2 separate regions of the Homo sapiens genome follow, and region 1 is linked to region 2. The links are contacts of gene promoters, found by promoter capture Hi-C in blood cells and fetal thymus (Javierre and others, 2016). All regions are on one chromosome and are shown on one strand. The core of a region is centred on a gene start or on the middle of the fragment in contact, and the rest is flanking DNA. Distances in the headings are between cores, read along the strand shown. Region 1 overlaps HAUS6 (HAUS augmin like complex subunit 6). Region 2 holds the start of RRAGA (Ras related GTP binding A).

The links. The method cuts DNA at HindIII sites, captures the fragments that hold promoters and counts their contacts. A CHiCAGO score of 5 or more calls a contact.
Region 1: a fragment that was not itself captured here is called in contact with the fragment with the promoter of RRAGA in region 2 in 1 of 17 cell types (neutrophils); the score reaches 6.0 in neutrophils.

What each region holds. Positions count from the first base shown.
Region 1 is chr9:19,080,965-19,086,283 of GRCh38, reverse strand. HAUS6 (HAUS augmin like complex subunit 6) reads left to right here. Exons shown (of 17, transcript NM_017645.5): 8 at 3,241-3,411. Among named protein-coding and RNA genes, the nearest start is that of HAUS6, 19 kb to the left of the region's middle. The HindIII fragment of the contact is 3,053 bases long and covers 384-3,436 here.
Region 2 is chr9:19,048,083-19,053,189 of GRCh38, reverse strand. RRAGA (Ras related GTP binding A) reads right to left here and starts at 3,763. Exons shown (of 1, transcript NM_006570.5): 1 at 2,165-3,763. The coding sequence starts at 3,530. The coding sequence ends at 2,589. It overlaps HAUS6 (HAUS augmin like complex subunit 6), which reads left to right. Exons shown (of 17, transcript NM_017645.5): 17 at 1-49. It also overlaps a transcript of SAXO1 not described here. RefSeq lists a silencer at 3,505-3,694 and an enhancer at 3,302-3,823. The HindIII fragment of the contact is 15,757 bases long and covers 1-5,107 here.

The DNA of each region.
Region 1 (5,319 bases), core at 661-3,160, 35 kb before region 2:
GCTGGAGTGCAGTGGCGTGGTCTCAGCTCACTGCAACCTCCACCTCCTGGGTTCAAGCAATTCTCCTGCCTCAGCCTCCCTAGTAGGTGGGATTACAGGTGTGTGCCAATATGTGCAGCTGATTTTTGTATTTTTGTAGAGATAGGGTTTCGCCATGTTGGCCAAGCTGGTCTTGAACTCCTGACCTCAGGTGATCTGCCCGCCTCAGTCTCCCAAAGTGCTGGGATTACAGGCATGAGCCACTGCGCCCGGTCCCCTTTCTTTTTATAGTACTATTACTTTTTTTTTTTTTAAAACTCATAGGTTGTATATATAAAGATATTGATAGAGTGCCTCTAAAACACTTGAATATAATGGAAAAATGAACTTATAGTTCATAAGCTTAATTATATTCAAAAGGGTTTTTAGACATGATTAATTTGAAATTCTCCACCCCAGTACAAAAAGCTCTGCTTGATTGTAGTATAACCTAGTCAGTGGTATTAATTTATCTAAATAAAATGGATTAACTGAAGGGAGATGTTAAGTATGAAAGGAAAATGAGGAATCAAAATGAGTCTGGTTTGGCAGGAGGGAGGATTCTGACAAATGAAAATGATCTGAGGCCTCCAGAGTTTGGCTTTGATGTGAGTTAAGTATTTTCTTAGGTTTTCTTTTTTTTTTTTTTTGGATAAAATCTCTCTCAAGCTCTTTGTTGTGATTCTGTGATTGCCATGCCAAGCTGCTGTGGGTATAAATTTGGCTTCCAAGGCACATTGTCACCTGTAAAGGTTAGCGCCCTCTTCAGGAAATATTTTTATTCAGTGAATGTATTGATCATCTGATATGTGCTAGGTATCTCGTAGACATTAGGGCTACAACAATGAGGAGAACAGGCAAGGCAAAGTCACTTCCTTCATGGAATTTTCCATTTAATGAATCTCTGATTGCAAATTATATAATTAAAATAATTTGCAGAACCTATTAAAGTTTTCACATCAGTCTCTTCTGAGTTTGGTTCATATTTGTTTTCCCTGAGTACAGTCAACTTTGAGCCATTGTCAAGATAAAAATCTAGACTTGGAAAATATGAGAACCAGATCCTGGACAATTACAGATTCATCAAGGAAATGCCATTCTGTGAGACCTCTAGACTGCTAGCCAATGAGTCTTCCTTTGGGAACAACTTTACCTTGCCATACAACATGTCAGAGATATTTAGGGTGGCACACACCTATAGTTTCACCTACTCAGGAGGCTGAGGCAGGAGGATTGTTTGAGCCCAGGAGCTCAAGGCTGCAGTGTGCTCTGGTTGTGCCAGTGGACTGTAGCCTGGGCAACAGAGCGAGACCCGTCTTAAAAAAGAAAAAAAAAAGAGGCGGGGGTACAGTGGCTCACGCCTGTGAGCACTTTGGGAGGCCGATATGGTTGGATCACTTGAGGCCAGGAGTTTGAGGCCAGCCTGGCCAACATGGTGAAACCCTGTCTCTACCAAAAATAAAAAAGTAGTCTGGTGTGGTGGTACTCACCTGTAGTCCCAGCTATTTGGGTGACTGAGGCACAAGAATCACTTGAACCTGGGAGGCAGAGGTTGCAGTGAGCCAAGATTGTGCCACTGCACTCCAGCCTGGGTGACAGAGTGAGACCTTGTTTCAAAAAAAAAAAAAAAGAAAAAAGAAAAAAAGTGAACTAATTAGAGATATTTAATATTGTATTTTTATCGTGCAGGAAGAACATGTGTATAATTATATTTCTCCACCTCCCTCCCTCTTTTGTAAATTCTGTTAATGCATAACATATATACAAGAAATGTGTAACTCATAAGTATATAGCTTGACAAATTTTCACAAAGTGAACAAGTCCATGTAACCATCATCATTTAAGGAATAGGATGTTACCAGCACCCTAGAATCCTCCTTGAACCTGTTTAGTTTACACTGTTTGCCCCCACGGGGAAACAGTGCCCTCACATGTTACACTAAAGATTAGTTTTGCCTGTTTTTGAACTTCATATAAATGCCAGTATATAGAATATATTCTTTTGTGTCTGACTTTGGCTCAACATTGTTTATGATATTTATCCATGCTGTTGTGTGTAATTGTAGTATGTTTATTCTCATTGCTGCTTAGTGTTCTATTTTATGAATATAGCACCAATGTACCCTTTTTACTCTGGATGGACCTTTGGATTGATTCTACTTTTTGATTGTTACAAATAGACATTCTATGAGTATTCTTTTTTTTTTTTTTTTTGCAAGGATCCTGGGCTTAAGGGATCCTTTTACCTCAGCCTTCTGAGTAGCTGGGATTACAGGTATGCGCCACTGTGCGTGCCTAAATATTCTTGTATATCAATTTTAATGAATATAGATTAGTATATGCCTAAGATTTTTTGCTTTTAATGAGGCATAATTTTTTACACTTTAACTTCCTCAAACTGAATGACTTAAAATTGAGATGTAGTAGTTTTTTTCTCTTGAAAAAAAATTTTTTTTTTTTTTTTGAGATGGAGTCTTGCTCTGTCCCCTAGGCTGGAGTGCAGTGGCGCGATCTTGGCTTACTGCAAGCTCCGCCTGCCGGGTTCACACCATTCTTCTGCCTCAGCCTCCCGAGTAGCTGGGATTACAGGCACCTGCCACCACGCCTGGCTAAGTTTTTGTATTTTTATTAGAGACGGGGTTTCACCGTGTTAGCCAGGATGGTCTCTATCTCCTGACCTCGTGATCTGCTTGCCTCGGCCTCCCAAAGGGCTGGGATTACAGACGTGAGCCACTGCGCCCGGCTTCTCTTGAAAAATTTTTAAAATTATTTCTCCCTGAATGATCTTCATTCGATTAATTACATGTCAGCATATAGAAAATGCTAATTGTATCTTGTATAAGATTTCTTAGATTTGGAGCTGGGTGCAGTGGTGCGTGCCTGTAGTCCCAGCTACTTGGGAGGCTGATGTGGGAAGATTGCTTGAGCCCAGGAGTTTGAGTCTGGCCTGGGCAACATAGTAAGACCCCATCTCTGAAAACAAAAAAATTCTTAGATTTGTTTGAAAATTATAGTGAGCTAGATTCTCCTGATACATTTTTTTAAAAATTCCCTTTGGAAATAATATCCAAAGGGACTTTTAAACTATTAAAGTATAATTATTTAATTTTCTTACTAGAAATCATTCTAGGAAATTTGTTACTAAGAGTGAACATACATTTACATTTTTAAAATATGTACAGATTATGTGTGGACTTTAATATTTTGTTTCTGTTTCCAAAGGTTCGGTCTTTGTGGGCTTCAGTGAATGAAACGCTCATGTTTTTGGAAAAAGAGAGAGAAGTTGTTAGTTCGGTCCTTAGTCTTGTTAACCAATATGCTTTAGATGGAACTAATGTTGCTATTAATATTCCAAGGCTCTTACTTGACAAAATTGAGAAACAAATGTTTCAGGTAAGCATTTGATATTAAGGAAGCTTTTGAGAAAACTCCTATCATGTAATTGTATATTTTCTTGCAATGTTCTTCTGCTTTCAGAATTTGTTTTTTGTTTTTTGTTTTTTGTTTTTTTTTTGAGACAGAATTTTGCTCTTATTGCCCAGGCTGGAGTGCAATGGCGTGGCGTGGTTTCAGCTCACTGCAACCTCCGCCTCCCAGGTTCAAGAGATTCTCCTGCCTCAGCCTCCCGAGTAGCTGGGATTACAGGCATGTGCCACCACACCCAGCTAATTTTGTATTTTTAGTAGACGGGGTTTCTCCATGTTGGTCAGGCTGGTCTCGAGCTCCTGACCTCAGGTGATCCACCCACCTTGGCCTCCCAAAGTGCTGGGATTACAGGCGTGAGCCACCGCACCCGGCCAGAATTTATTTCTATGAGTGTGTTTAGTAAAACTTTCATAAGGAGTGATACTGTTAAAGGTGTGTATATTTATATTCACTTTTATTAATTGCCCCTTACCTGTACAGTACTACATCATATAGTACAGACAGTATGAAGTTTCTTAGTAGGAAGATGATACTGTACTAGTTCATTATAAATTCTCAAAGGCAACAACAGTGATCTCCTAATTGCCAAATGTCCTTTTAAAAAGTCTCCATCCCCTGGTTTGTGTTTTATCTTGATGCTGTTAAGTGTTGCTTGTAAAGCAACATTAAATAATGTTCTCCATGGTTCTTTTAATGCCCTCTTTTTCTTTCCGTCATTATAAATGTATTTGTATTTTCTTACCAATTTCATGACTTCAGCAGTCTCTCCTCATCAACCCAAACTCCATCCAGTTATTTCCACTTGCTTATGGGACATTATCTGGATAGCTTACTTTTTTGTTTTCTTAGAAAACACAATTCATCAAGCATCTATTATATACTGGAGAGATACAAAGATAAAATATTGTTGTGACTCTCTGAAGAGAGACACTTCTTTAGTAGAGACGGGGTTTCACCATGTTGGCCAGGCCGGCTTAGAGCTCCTGACCTCAAATGATCCTCTTGCCTCGGCCCCCAAAGTGCTGGGATTACAGGCGTGAGCCAGTGTGCCTGGCCCATAATTTTTGTGTGAAATCTATGATTTAAAAAGTATTGGAAACTGTCTGGGTATGGTGGCTCACACCTATAATCCCAACACTTTGGGAAGCTGAGGAGGGTAGATCACTTGCGGTCAGGTATTGAGACCAGCCTGGCCAACATGATGAAACCCTGTCTCTACTAAAAATACAAAAATTAGCTGGGCATGGTGGTGCACATCTGTAGTCCCAGCTACTTGGGAGGCTGAGGTGGGAGGATCGCTTGAATGCTTGGGTCGGAGGCTGCAATGAGCCAAGATTGAGCCACTGCACCCAGCCTGGGAGACAGAGTGGGATTCTGCCTCAAAAAAAAAAATTAAAATTAAAATTAAAAAATTGGCAACTAATTCAAATGATTTTAAGACATAGAAATGTGCAAGCCAAAGAAACATATTTAAGTACAGATACAGCCTTTAGGGGTCATTGATTTGTAACTTCTGTTAAAAAATGAATTTATGGTCTTTTCACTAAACCTGCTGTTTCTGCTCAATCTTTATTTTTCTTTCCATCTATTAACATTTCTTTTATTCTAGTTTTCAACCTTTTGTGTAATATAAAAATGTAGCAAAAAATGTAGCAAGGCATGTTACTCTTTCCTAGTAGTTTTCACTGGGCCAAAATTATTTACGTCATTTTATGTTTGGGGGTATTTGATTTTTTTCCCCCCGCTTTTTTTTTTGTTTGTTTGTTTGAGATGGAGTTTCACTCTTATTGCCCAGGCTGGAGTACAATGGCACAATCTCGGCTCACTGCAACCTCTGCCTCTTGGGTTCAAGCGATTCTCCTGCCTCAGCCTCTG
Region 2 (5,107 bases), core at 2,514-5,013:
CTGTAAATGTTTTAAATACTGTTGTTTTCAATAAATATTTTATACTATCTGGCTCTGGAATTTCCTATATAATCTCAAAAAGAACTATGCCCCTGCAAATCATAAGATGATCACATGTAAAGTTATATTAATAACCTGATCAACAAATTTGAGAGGTTCAGTGATTCAGGTCAACATATTTTGTTACTTCCATTTTAATTACTAGATTTACAGTATATAGTATTTTAAAATGAATTTTTAAGGTTATATCTATACTGTCAGTTTACACATCTGGAGTCTTTATACTAATGTATTGCCAATGGCCCTAATTAGGTAATTTTTATAAATTACACCTGAATAGCTTCTTACTCTTCATGAGTAGCGTCATCCACATCTGCTGCTAGAAAGGGTTTAATGAACATTAAATAATTTTATAAAGCCTTAGAAATTCTAAAGCCCTATCACTTATGTTTACTGTCCATACAAAGATAGCACCTCGAGTGTAAAATGAAAGGCTTAGAGTTGATCACAGGTCTCTTCGCTCTAAAATACTTAGATTTCTTTTCAAACAATCCTTAAGGCAGCTATTGCTGGAAGTGGAATGGGACATTTTAGATCTGTTTGTCCATTTTACTACACCACATTGCCAATCCAAATTAGGAACCTCAGAATCCTTCCTTAAAAGTAGGTGATCTAAGAATCTGTTTCAGTATTATCCAATTTCTAGAGAAATACAAATGGGAAAGTGATCTTGCCCAAAATGAGTGAAACTCTATTCCTTGAGGGAGGTCACTTAGCTTCCTGGGCTTCAGCTTACCCACTATGTAAATTTGGAATTATATGAAGGAATAATCTACATTTAAAAAGCTAGGACCCATCAGTGCTGATATGTGCAAGTTATAAGAACAAAAAAAATTGCCGGGTGCAGTGGCTTATGGCTGTAATCCAGCACTTTGGGAGGCTGAGATGGGTGGATCACTTGAGGTCGGGAGTTCCAGACCAGCCTGGCCAAAGTGGTGAAACCCCGTCTCTACTAAAAAATACCAAAAATGAGCTGGGCGTGGTGGCACATGCCTGTAGTCCCAGCTACTTGGGAGGCTGAGGCAGGAGAATGGCTTGAACCTGGGAGGCGGAGGTTGCAGTGAGATCGCGCAATTGCACTCAAGCCTGGGCAACAGAGCGAGACTCCGTCTCAAACAAACAAACCAAAAATAAATAAAAAGCTATGACTCTTATGGTTAACTTTTCAATGGAAGTAATGGGGTGTAATGATTAGGAGAGTCAGTAGTCAGATTGCCTGGGTTTAGCTGTATGACCTTAATAAGATCATAGTTTGCTCATCTGCTAAAATAGCGATCAAAGTAACCTACCACATAGGTTGTGAGGATTCAGTAAGATAAATGCACAAGTGCTTAAGAACACCTGACATTTAGTAAGGGATCAAATATTCAAATAGGTTTCATATCCAGTAATTTGGGGAAGAATGGCTCAGTAGGTAGTAATGGTAGTTAACAGAGTATGCTATGCGCTAGGCACCATTCCTAAATACTTACCATGTTGAATTTAATCCTTTTAAACATCCTATCAAGTGGTTTTTTATTGTTGTTTTTGAGATAGGGTCTTGCTTTGTCACCCAAACTGGAGGCCAGTGACACAATTATGCCTCACTGCAGCCTCTACCTCCTGGACTCAAGCAATCCTCTCTCCTCAGCCTCCCAAGCAGCTAGGACTGTAGGCACGCACCACTACGCCTAGCTAATGAAAAAAAATTTTTTTTTGTAGAGAGAGGGTCTCTCTATATTGCCCAGGCTGGTCTCGAACTCCTGATCTCAGGTGATCCTCCCACTTCAGCCTTCCAAAGTGCTGGAATTACAGGTGTGAGCCACCACGACTGGCTATAAAGTAGTATTCTGACCCACATTTTACCAATGAGGAAACAAGTGTAATGAAATTAAGTATTTGCCCATGTTCACAGAGCTAGTAAGTGAAGGGACCAGAATACTAACTCAGGTGGTCTAGCTTCAGTCCATAGCATAAGCGCTTCTACAGCTGTTACCAAACATCACTAAAGTGCTGGGGGCTAAATTCACAGAATCAAATTTGCCAGTCAAGCAATACTTGTGGGCAGTCAGAATTTTTAGATTTGCATATTAAGCACTTTCAAGTTATTTCAAATAAGGACATGTTTTAAATTGCTAACACGTTTATTCATGAATGAAGCCAAGAAGAATTTATAAATGCATTTTAATACCTTGCTGATAAAATAGTAACATTCCGTCTTTGCAATCTGATACGGAATACAGGAAGATACTGGTAAAGGCTTTGATGTGCATATCTATCATAACCAGGTAATGAGAACACACACGAACCACCTACTTTAGTGTTACACCATACCAACTTCTCAGAAAGGTCAGCTTCAAGCTCTACTGGGTAGCTGAGTAAATAGCGTCCAATGTTTAAAGACTGGGGAAGCGGGGAGAAAGATGAAAGGAGTAAGCAGCACACACTTCAAAGCCCACTTTTAAGCACACGACATTATGAATATTAAAAATAAAGGATGCAAACAAAAAAGGCAATTCAGCATTTTCAGAAAGAGCATTTGGCAATATTCAACGCATAAGGAGACTGTGCTTGGGGCCATCCACTCTCTCCAGCTTCTCAAAGTGTTTCCGGGCATTGCGAATGTTGATCAGAGTGGCCGCAGAAGGGATCGACGGATCTGACATGACCACCATCACGTACGTATTTGAGGTGAAGATGTCGATGAAAGCAGCGAAGTTGGAATTCCTAACTTCCATGCTCTGGAAGGAAGCGGCCAATTTACTGCAGCTCAGCTTGAACTGTTTGATGATGTTGCTGATCTTCTCAAACCGGTGGACGTCGCGCTGCTCTTTGCACTGGTAGTGGGAAATAACCAAGAATGTAGCTCTTTCGAACAGCAGAACTTCATCGGCCTCAATGATTTGGGCAAAATTCCTGAGGTTCATCTCCAGCTGCTGAACGTTGGGAATCAGCTGGTAGACGATGCTGGACCAGGCTTTGTAGAGCGTCTCATCCCAGATGGACGTTCGAAAACAAGCACACTCCAGCGGGCGAGACAGACGCCTCAGGTCTTCCTCTCGCTCTTTAAAAATCAGGTCACGCTGATCCTCCTGAACCAGATCCATTTTGTGCACCAGGCAGAAGATTTTGGCGTCAGGAGAGTTCTGGAGGATGGCCTCCAGACACGACTGGTAATAATGCATGTCCTTTTCCAGTTCGCGGCTCTCCACGTCAAACACGTAAATCAAAACTTCCACGTTACGGAAGATATTGTCTCGCTGGCTGGTGAAGTAATTTTCCATGAAGGTGTCCTGACCGCCACAGTCCCACAGGTTCAGCACCAGGTTCCCTAGGAATCGGACGTGGGAGTGTTCCACGTCAATGGTGGCCCCCAGGCGCCGGGTGTCGCGAGCAATGTAATTGGCGAAGATTATCGACCTCATGCTGGTCTTCCCCGACCCGCTCTTCCCCATCAGCAGCACCTTTTTCTTCATGGCTGTATTTGGCATCACCCGCCGGGGCACCGCGGACTGGGCCTGAGGGCGCGGCCTACACGCAGCGCCGAGGGAGGGGTCGGGGGCTGCCGGGGACTCGCAGGCCGCGCCTCGCTCCGCTCCGCCGCGCAGCTGGGCAGGCAGGAGAGTCGAGAGCGCGAACCCGGGGCTGGAGAGGCCGCGGACGGGCTGGCTCTTACTCAGATGGGAGCGCCCGCGGCTGTCAGTGGCAACGGCTCGGGAGATACGCTCGCTTTCCGGGAGGGAGCCGCTGCGTCCCCGCCACCACCCACTTCCGGCGGCGATCTCGCGAGAGCTCCCTCGCTCCGCCCTCCGTGCCCGACGAGCCTTGAAAAGCCGCTGCTCTAATGAAACCTAACCGGGGCGGCGTGAGCCCTAAGATGGAAGGGAAGCTCGAGGACTTCGGTCTTTTGTTCTGTTGCAGCTGGGTTTGCTGTTGCTAGGGGTACGTGTGTGGTTGGCCGGGGGAAATGCTGCCCTCTCGTGGCCAAAAAAAGCCCCAACCGCCACCACCACCGCAACTGGCTTTAGGAGCGAGGTGTGTCGGGCCGGTTTCCGCAGGGGCAGCCGACTGGTGAAGTGGAGGGAAAGCCTAACTTCCCAGTCCGCTTAGGCCTCCCCAGCTTGCCCGGCCCAGTGAGTACAAGGGCAGGGCAGATGGAGACTGTGCAGGCGCGGAAAGTGAGACTTGTAGGCAAGCGATTGCCTGTTGCTGCGCAGCTAGGTAATAGCAAGTCCCTCCTAGGAGACATCCTGGCTTCCAGTGGGTGCTTTTAATTCCTTTCTCACATCTGCTTTTCCGTAATCTCAGACTTTAGAATTTATAATTAGAATTCCAAAGCTCGAGGAAATGATAATGTGGAATCCCAGGCATTAGTTCCATCCTCACAGTAACCCTGTGAATTAATAACCCTATTTTCAAGTTAGGGAATCAAAGGTTAGAGAGGTTAAGTCACTTGACCAAGTTACACAGATACTAAATGATGAAATGGAATTTGGTTTTAGACAATCTTGCTGCGGTCTATTTGCCTAACAATAGGCTACCCTGTGCCCCTCTCAAAGCATAATATGATTCTGCTCTTGGTCTTCAAGTAGATGAGTGAATCAGTGTCGCCAGTATCGTTCATACAGAATGAATGAGAGTCATCAGGATACTGAAGCCTCTGTATCTACCTTAAAGTCCTTTTTTTTTCTTTTGAGACGGAGTCTCACTCTGTTGCCCAGGCTGGAGTGCAGTGGCGCGATCTCAGCTCACTGCAACCTACGCCTCCTGAGTTCAAGCGATTCTCCTGCCTCAGTCCCCCAAATAGCTGGGATTGTGGGCACCTGCCACCACGCCCGGCTAATTTTTGTATTTTTAGTGGAGACGGGGTTTCACTATGTTGGCCAGGCTGGTCTGGAACTCAAGCCAGCCACCTGCCTCGGCCTCCTAAAGTGTGGGATTACAGGCGTGAGCCACCGTGCCTGGCCTAAAGCCCTTATCAAAGTGTATACTGTACTGTACAAATTCAGGTATTCCATTCTTTCATTTATTCAAAAAATATTTTAATTCCTACTGTTAACGTGTGCAG